Regions from separate parts of the Homo sapiens genome. Here region 2 is linked to region 1. Evidence: promoter capture Hi-C in 16 types of primary human blood cells and fetal thymus (Javierre and others, 2016). All regions are on one chromosome and are shown on one strand. The core of a region is centred on a gene start or on the middle of the fragment in contact, and the rest is flanking DNA. Distances in the headings are between cores, read along the strand shown. Region 1 holds the start of LINC02907 (long intergenic non-protein coding RNA 2907). Region 2 overlaps OLFM1 (olfactomedin 1).

Evidence for each region. The method cuts DNA at HindIII sites, captures the fragments that hold promoters and counts their contacts. A CHiCAGO score of 5 or more calls a contact.
Region 2: a fragment that was not itself captured here is called in contact with the fragment with the promoter of LINC02907 in region 1 in 1 of 17 cell types (endothelial precursors); the score reaches 9.1 in endothelial precursors.

What each region holds. Positions count from the first base shown.
Region 1 is chr9:135,341,422-135,345,781 of GRCh38, reverse strand. LINC02907 (long intergenic non-protein coding RNA 2907) reads right to left here and starts at 2,533. Exons shown (of 3, transcript NR_171012.1): 1 at 2,311-2,533; 2 at 1,329-1,760; 3 at 1-488. RefSeq lists an enhancer at 2,780-3,492. The HindIII fragment of the contact is 15,144 bases long and covers 1-4,360 here.
Region 2 is chr9:135,091,817-135,096,176 of GRCh38, reverse strand. OLFM1 (olfactomedin 1) reads right to left here. Exons shown (of 6, transcript NM_001282611.2): 3 at 158-313. Among named protein-coding and RNA genes, the nearest start is that of OLFM1, 6.3 kb to the right of the region's middle. RefSeq lists a silencer at 4,067-4,224. The HindIII fragment of the contact is 2,742 bases long and covers 887-3,628 here.

The sequences.
Region 1 (4,360 bases), core at 1,284-3,783:
GTCCACCATGCAGGGTGGTGGCCCTCCCTCTGGAGCTGCTCAGACATTCACATGTGTGTGCACATAGCCAGGCACATACAGGCATACGCACACATGTGCAGAAATGCACATACGTATGCATATCCATGCATGCATATATATAGACACAGACCCGGGCACACAGGCACACACATGCACAAATGCATCACATGCAGAGAGACTCAGGGGCATGCGCACACACACATACCCAGAGCTGCACATGCAGGCACACACACACATATGCCCACAAGTACACTTGTTTGTGTGAAGCACAGACATCCACACGCAGGCATATGTATGCATGCACACACACCTACATGTGCAGACCCTCTAGCCTGAGAAGCCCAGGTCTTCCAGGCAGATGGTTGTGTGAGTTTCTCTCTCCCAGGACCAGGCAGACGCAGCATAGAAGCCCTGATCCGTCTGTTCCTAACCCAGCAAGTGACACACAATAGCCTCTCTGTGTGGCCCTGAGTGGAGATGAGATTCAAAAAGAAAAAAGCAGCTTTCAACTTCCTCTACGTGAAAGGTCATCGCCCCCTCCCCACGTGGGGGTGTCAGGCGATGAGGGAGCCTGGGAGCCCAAGCAGGCTCTCGACAGACAGCTGTCTCTCGCATGTGATGGTGCCGCCGTCTTTCTCACCAGCAGCACGACGCTGCAGGCTCTAGGGGCTGTGGGTAGAGACAGACGGCCTGTGCCCTTTACATCCTTCCAGCCAAGCCCGCTGCTGTACTCCAGATGCGGGCCTTGTTTGCCCTCCCCGCGTATCTCTGAGGTCCCCACGAATTGCTGTGTGGCATGAATGTGAGATCCCTGCCATGGTATCCAAAAGGCAAGCCTCTACTTACAGGAGGGATGAAGGCCCTGAGGGGTGGTGGGTGTCCCATCCCCCTGAGAGTTGGGGGTGCAGAGGGCCCCTCTGCACCTGACCTGCCACCTGGTGGTCACTGTGGTGAGAAAGGGGTCCTGGGACTTCAGGCCTGGGGTTTTGGGGTGAAGATGTCTTGTCTAGAGGCACCAGCTGCCCACAGCCCTGCAGCCACCCTGGCCGAGAGCAGATGATCCAGCGAGTCCTCAGGGGAACATTATCCTCTTTGCAAAATAACTGTGGAATTAGAGCTTGATGTGGGCTTAGCGGGTGCCCTGCAGTGTCTCAGTTCATTCCTACCCAGCAAAGTGGCTGACGTGAGAGCGGGGTCTGCACCGACAGCAGGACCTCCCTGTTCACCTGCTCCCGAGACCACCAGGGAGCCATGCTGTGGCTGTGGCTGAGGCTGAGGGTGGGGCAAGAACCCAAATGCACACAAACCTGCATCATCCGTCCAGCACTGGATCCCAGGGTCTCTCTAGACATTTTAAAAGATCTTTAAAAACAGGGAAGAAAGAAACCAACCCCATTGGGGCGGTGGCGGCTCCCTTAAACTTTCAGCGACTGCCATGAGAACAGAGATTTCGGTGGCTCCAAAGAACACAGGCTTATATTCCTTTGCTTTTCTTGAGGTTCTTATGCCGGAAAGATGCAGGTGTTGCCTGCCCTCTTGCCCTGTGAGGCTGTTCCTCAGCCGCCAGCCCAGGACTGGGCGTCCGGCCGTTCTGTCCACGCTGCAGCCCTGCTGTCCGCTAGATGGCGCTGCGTCATGCCCGTGGCGGGCCTGTCTGGAACCCAGGAAGGCCTGGCGGAGTTCCAGGAGGGTCTCTGGAGACCCAGGCGTCAGCACAGTGGCGGGGACGAGTCCCCTCCCTGGAGGGTGTGAGATCCCCTCATTGCCGGGCTCTGGGCACCCAGAGCACAGATTTTGTTCGCTCACTGCTGGAGAAGCATAGCCTGCCTGGGAAATGCCCCCTCCCCTCTGTGGAGCCGGGAGGTATGCATGCAGGCATGTGTGTGTGTACACGTGTGTGCACACGCCTGTGCCTGTGTGTGCCTTGTGCATTCTGTGCAAGGATGTGTGTGCATGCGCATGCATGCATGCACACACCTGCACACACTCCTGTGGCCGTGTGCTCTTGTGCATATGTGGGGGTTCTGTGTGTGTGTCTGGGGACAGGGAGGTATAGGAGGCAGCTCCCTTTAGCCCATTGGAGGCTAGCCCTGTGTATGTGCTGGACTCCAAGATGACAAAGACCTGCCCAGGTCTCAGCCTCAGCCTGTAACTGCTCTGAGCCTCCATTTACTCATCTGTAAAATTGAGATGCCCCAGTTACCTCCCAGGTGTGATGAGGCCCCATGGAGACCATGGGGCGAGAGGGCCCTCCCCACAGGCATGACGCAAAGTGACATCGATACACACCTGTGTTGTGGTCACGCACCTCCAGCAGCGGCCACAGGAAGGACACTGAGGTCTGCCCTGGGCTGAGGCCCATGGCATCCTGTTCATCATGGGGGTGCCACGGAATCCCCCATCCCACAGGGGAGGAGACGCAAGCTGAGAGGCGAAGCCACAAGCCTGACTCTGAGCCCAGGCTGTCGTCCCGGGCCGCGGTGCCCACACTGCCACTCAGCCCTGGCTGGAGATGCAGTGCTGAGGTGGGCAGGTGGCTCCACCAGCCCCATGAGGCTCAGTGGGACCTGGTGGAGGGTGGCACTGGCCTTGGAGAAGACTTGAGCCCAGCCTCTCTGTGCTGGCAGCTGGGAATGCTGAGAGGCAGGAGGAAGCTGGGGGGCACTTCCTGAGCCCCCACTGCATGGGGACAAAACCCAGGGATCCCTCCCCAGGCAGAGACCCCACCGGGCTCGATCACCAGACTTCTGGCTGTCAGCTGGCACAGAGGCCCAGCAGGGACAACCCCGGAGGAGGGGAATGTGTCATTGGGAGCCTGGGCAGCCATCAACTAGTCCTGGCCTAAACGTGGAGCACCTGGTGCCCGGCCCTTTGGCAGGGCCTTCCTTGGGGACAGAGGTGACTGCTGGTGCCTGGACCCAGGAAGCTCCCCCATCTCCCCAGGCCACCAGAGGCCCCGAGTCACTCCCGGGTGAAAACACAAATCCAGGCTGGGGCAGCTGACAGGTGGTTCCCAGGGAGGAACTGAGGGGTTGAGGGGCAGGAGAGGTGGGAGCTGGACACAGTGACTTCTGGGGCATCAGGCCTCGGCCATCTCCGAAGGAGGGCTCCCGGGAGGTGCACGTGGACAAGATTTCTGGACGAGATCAGGCTGCTTACCCGTCTGCCAAGGCCCTGCAGCTTGGGTGTCTTTGCGAACCTGTCAGTAATTGGGGTTGTGTCCAACAGCCTGTGCCAGGCTCCTTGGCGGGGCAGTCCTTGCAGCAGTCCTTGAAGGTCACCTCGAGAGCCAAGGCTGGGCAAAGCGATGGATCCATCAGGTGCAGGGGGAATGGTGTCTGGGGCCCACAAAGGTCACGATGTGGCCCCGCAGGTGCCAATGAGGGAGCCAGGGTCCAGCCACCTGTGCTTGCCAGCTGGGTGCCCTGGTACCAGGGGACGAGCTCCTTCTTGGTTTGCACAAAGGCTGGTGGGCCCCGTCCAGGAGCTGCTGCCCAACAGTGTGCTCTCGGATCCCTAGGACACGGGGGCCCCAGCTGCATGCTGTGCTCAGCCCCATCGGACACTGGGAGCCCCCTTCTATGGAACCAGAGCTCCCGAGGGGATGCTAGAAAAGTGTGGAGCTCTTTTCCTGGGCGCTGAGCCCCCTGTCCATGGTAGGAAAGAGGACAGTATTAGTGATGGGGATGCAGGGACACCTGTGGCTTCAGAGCATCAGCTTGGAGTGTCTGATTTAGTCATGAGACAGCCTCACCTGGGGAGAACTTTCTTCCCATTTTACAGAGGGGTAAATAGAGGCTGCTGTGGCGCCCTGCCCAGGAGCCCTGGCTGCTTCGAGGCTGAGGAAAGCAGGGAGGTGAGCAGCTCGGGGCCTGCCCTGCAGGTGCACCCGGACCCTGGGTGGGCCCTGCCACCCCGCACGCCTTCCCCAGAGCCCTCTGAGCCTTGGCCGGTGGGCGGACGGAGAAGGTTCTGAGGGGAGGAGTCTGGAAAGAGGGAGGGGCTTTGTGAGGGACCACAGGGGAAGTGGGGCTGAGCCTCTGCTGTCCTCAGCCTCTGCTGTCCTCAGCTGGGTCTCCCACCAGGTCCCTTCCACCCGCTGTGGCCTTGGCGTCCTTCTTGCTTGGGCCCCATGGGTCAGCTGTGGGTGCCTGGACACCCATAAGTGGCCATCCTGCCTGGGTCCCTGGACCTCTTGCCACCTCTCCCATCCCCACACACCTGCCACCATGCCAGCAGCCACTTTCTAGAGCCTTCCGTAGCAAATGAGTTCCTTCATCTCAAATTAGGTGCAGGGGGAATGGTGAGGCTTTCTATAAAAGCCTCTCTGCTGATGACG
Region 2 (4,360 bases), core at 1,008-3,507, 250 kb after region 1:
GAAGGAGAGGGAGGAGGAAGAGGAGGATGAAGGGAGGAGGAGCAAGAGGAGGAGAAGAGGAGGAGGAAGAAGAGAAGGAGGAGAGGAGGGAGGGGAAGGAGGAGGAAGAGGAGGAGGAGGAGGATAAGGGGAGGGAGAGGGGGAGGAACATGCATACCTTAAACTGCCTGGCCAGGTGTTGCTTATGACTCTCCTCCACCTGTTTGAACTTGGACTCCAGTCCTTTCATTTGGTTCTCCATCTTCTCCACGTACTGCAAGTCTCTCTGGGTCCGCCTGTCCAAGACCTCTATGGATTGAGACATGTTCTGCACCTGTCAAAAGGGCAACAGGTTCAGCAAAACAGCCGCAGTAGGTGCCAGGCAATCTTCTCTGCCTGCTCGTACAGACATTGCCCTTTCCCACACAGCCAGCACACTGGGAACCAGAAGTGGCCCATGCATTATTTACAAGGTAATCGCCAGCATCGCGGACTGTGAGGACTGATAACTCCCCAAACACAGCAAATTGGTTGGGTAAACATTTTCTTTGCCAACCTGTTCTTATCATCAGGGATGCAAATCAGGGGTGTAGGAGACTCAAGTTCCGTTATTCGCTGTAGCTCCAGGCACAGGCTGGGTGATTTCTCTTGATCTCTCTCTCTCTCTTTTTTTTTTTTTTTTGGTAGTGGTGGGTGGGGATTGTTCCTAGTCTTTCTGTTGCAGGACAACATTAGTTAGGCAAGCATAAACACCAGCAGAGAGGAATGGCACTCTTAGGCTGCCCCGCCCCCAGGTATAAATTCTCCTTCTTCCTAAATCTCATTGACTGTCTTGCTGATAAGGTTGATTACTTAAGTGCAGAGTGAAGGAACAAGGGAGCTGCTCTCCCTGACTCTGCATCAAGCTTTTTTCCCTATCTGCTATGCCATCCATCACACCCCACAGTATCATAGGTAGATGACTGCTCTGCAAACATGTACATTCTGAGCATAGAGTCAGGAATCAATCACCCAGCAAATGAAGAATCGCTGTTTTACATCTTTACAGGCAGATCTGAATTGAGTCTAGCCTCAAGATGGAACTTTAATATTCAACAGGATTCCAGGGAGCTTAAAAGAAAAACAGTTTTAGTGCAGCCACCTGCCAGTGCATTTTATTTGCAGGAAACTGGTGTGTGCTTCTGTGCAAATGCATTCGGGGCTGCGGGGAGGCGGGAGGAAGCTGAGGATTGCTGCAGTGGTGTTTGGGTCATTTTCTCAGAATCTAATCCAATTACTAGAGAGGAAGTTACCTCCATGACAGCAAATCTTCACTCCTGACTTTTCTGCTGAATTTGAAAATACTCTCCCTTCTAGGAACAAAATCATTTGGGGATGAGGCTTAGCTTTGCCGGTCAGTGTGAAAAGAGGACAGTGTGGTTTCTACTTCTTACTATACATCCTCCACCCCGCCAAATAAAGTAAAATACAAGAGAGCAAACCAAGCCTCCTCAGTAGAAGGAAAACCACTATTGCCAATCTCAGCACCCCAAAATGCAAGGAATTTCATATCTTGTTATCAGAAAGTAACACACACAAACTCATCTTGAAATTTTAAGTTTGTAAAGTACACGACGGGGTGGCTTCAGCTCCCTCTCACCCCTTCTCTTCCCCGAGAAACGGAAGCATACCTCTAATACCACCTGCCTGATTCTCTTGTTGTCTTCCTCTGTCACTTTGAATAACTACAGCACCTTTTTCAAGAAAAGATGTAAAGTTTGTCTATATTCGTCCTTCAAGGCCCAGCCCAAATGCCACCTCCTCCAGGGAGGCTTCTCTGATGGACTGAGTTAAAACTAGCTGCAAACTATTTGGAAACAACAACGTCACTTTGTTGGCACAATGTCTGCCTAGGAGTGAGCCACACAGCTGTCCCCCCACAGCTTTCCGGACAGGATGCTCATGGGGGGAGTGACACTGGGTCTCATCCACATCTGTAACCCCTGCACAAAGTCCAGTAAATCTAGTGCACGGGAGTAGCTCCTGCAGCCACATGGCCGGAGGAAGCAACAATACAAATGGCGGCGCCAGTCCAGACCCCTCTCTCCATTCCCCTCCTGGCAAAATCCCCAGGAGCGAAGGCCCACAAGTGCCGAGGAGAAGCTGCTGAGCTCATGCTGGCCTCAGTCAGGAGACCACACACGGTGCTGTAGGCTTTTTGCTCCCCAGAGAAGGAATGCTTTTAAAAGATTTCAAAGATTAGACTTTAGATTTAAAAAACAAATTTTAAAGATACCAAGCTATTCAGCTGCCTTAAAACCAAACAATTACTCTCCTATAGTTCTCCTAACCCTGAATGCACTTTCCTTTCTGGCCATGGACAAGGCACAGGCACAGGTCTGCCTCCAGCTCACAGTCAGTCTAGGACTGCAATCACGCACCCATCTCCCAACCCTAGGGAAGGCATTCCTCTGAGCACAGCCCTTCCTCTGAGCACCTTCATTTTCTTGCCTGCAGGATGTGTCTCTGAGGAGCCAACTGGCAGGCTCAGGGTCACAGAGCTACGGGATGACAGTCTATCCCACACCCTACCCAACGGGGCAGCAGGCATTAAGAAGCGGGAGGGGGGCCAGCAACACACAAAGACACACCTGGCCTCAAGATAACTAACAGCTAATAATTATCCATCCTTTCCCATGTTCCAGGCACTGCACTGAGTCTGCTGTGTTATTTATCTCATTTGATCTTTACAAAACCCCGGGAAATGAATAAGTACTATTTTGAGTCCCATTTTACACATAGGGAGACCAAGGCTCAGAGAAGTTAAGCAACTTGCTTACTGTCACCCAGCCAGGAGGCCTGCCAGTTCAAGCTGGACTGGCTCCAAAGCCTACACTCTCAAACCCAGAGCCAAGTGCTTCTTCAAAGAGAACGGAGCCCGTGCCACACGCCTGCCACTATCTGTGTCCCTACAGTGCTCGACCCTAGCTGCATGGAACTACCTGGTGAGGCTTCCAGGGCTGTACATACCTGGGTTCCCCACAGGGACCCCAGGGCAACAGAAATCAGAGACTCTGGAGGTGGGGCCTGGGACTCAGTACCTTGCAGCCTCACCAGGTGGGTTAAAGGTGAAGCCAGGGCACAGAAATACCGACCTGGCTGGAATATGCTCAGCTGTGACCCAGCCCTATCAACAGGGCACATGGGCTGAGGTTTCTGGAGCACCCTGTCCTGCTTCTGCCCATGAAGAGAAAGCAAGAGAAGAAAAGAGAAAGAGGAAAGAAAGAAAATAGCACACAGGCCAGGGTGTGCGGGGGAAGCTGAGGACGGAGCAGCGCTGCCTCCTGCTAAAATGCACAGTGCATTAAGGAGCAAGGGCCCTCTTTCATAGCAAATGGCTCATGCCCTCTGAAAATAGAGTGCCCGCTATGGTATCAAATGGGGCTTTAAATTTTTAAGCAGTAATGCTGTGGCACGCACAGGCAGGAAGGAACATTCCAGGGCCTGCAGTCCCAGGGGCTCATGGAGCATTCTGGAATCCATTTCCCAACTCTCTGCTCTCCCCGCAAATGCCTCCTCCCTGGGCTCAGGGCTCTGTTTTCCCCTCCTGACTCTCGCCGGCCCCCACAGCCCAGAGGCCCCTCCAAGTGCCGCCTCCCCCATCTAAGCTTCTGAATAATTAAAGGCTCAGTTAGGCTTTGGTCTAGTTTGGTGTTAATAAATGTTGGTGGAATGTTAAATGTATCTTACTTTAATTCTTTTAAAATGATTTACTCAGGTGGCTAAAGAAAAAACAAATTCTATTCCTTCAAGGTGAGCGTGCTTTACGAACTAGGCCAGTTGCCCTGCGTACCATGATGCATCCTTCTTGCCCAAGAAACAAGGGTCCTGTGGCCATTCCAGACAGGGACTGGGACACAGAACAGGCAGTGACTCGGACCTTTCAAGGCCCGTCAGAGCTGGGTGGGCACTCGAAACCTCTAGCCCACCCTCTCCTTCTCCAAGGAAGGGGACTTGCTTTGTCTCGAGCTTCCTGAGGGTTTGTGGTTCAGCACCAGGAATGTGGACCCGAGTCGGGTCAATGCTGTCCTCTCACCAGGCTGCTCCCACCTTCCCCAACGAGGTGGGCAGTGACAGCACCATCTGTCCCCCCAGCACGGAGCCAGCCCTGAGTCACAGAGGCCCCCCGCCCCTCACAGGCCTCCTGCCATACTCCTGAGCTGACGCCCATTCCAGAAAGTCCAAGGCCAACCTGCAGGAAGAGTCACGGCTTTACTATTGTGTGTGTGTGAACGTGTGTGACTATGTGTGTGTGTGTGTGACTATGTGTGAGTGTGTGTGTGACTGTGTGTGAGTGTGTGTGACTATGTGTGAGTGTGTGTGTGACTGTGAGTGTGTGTGA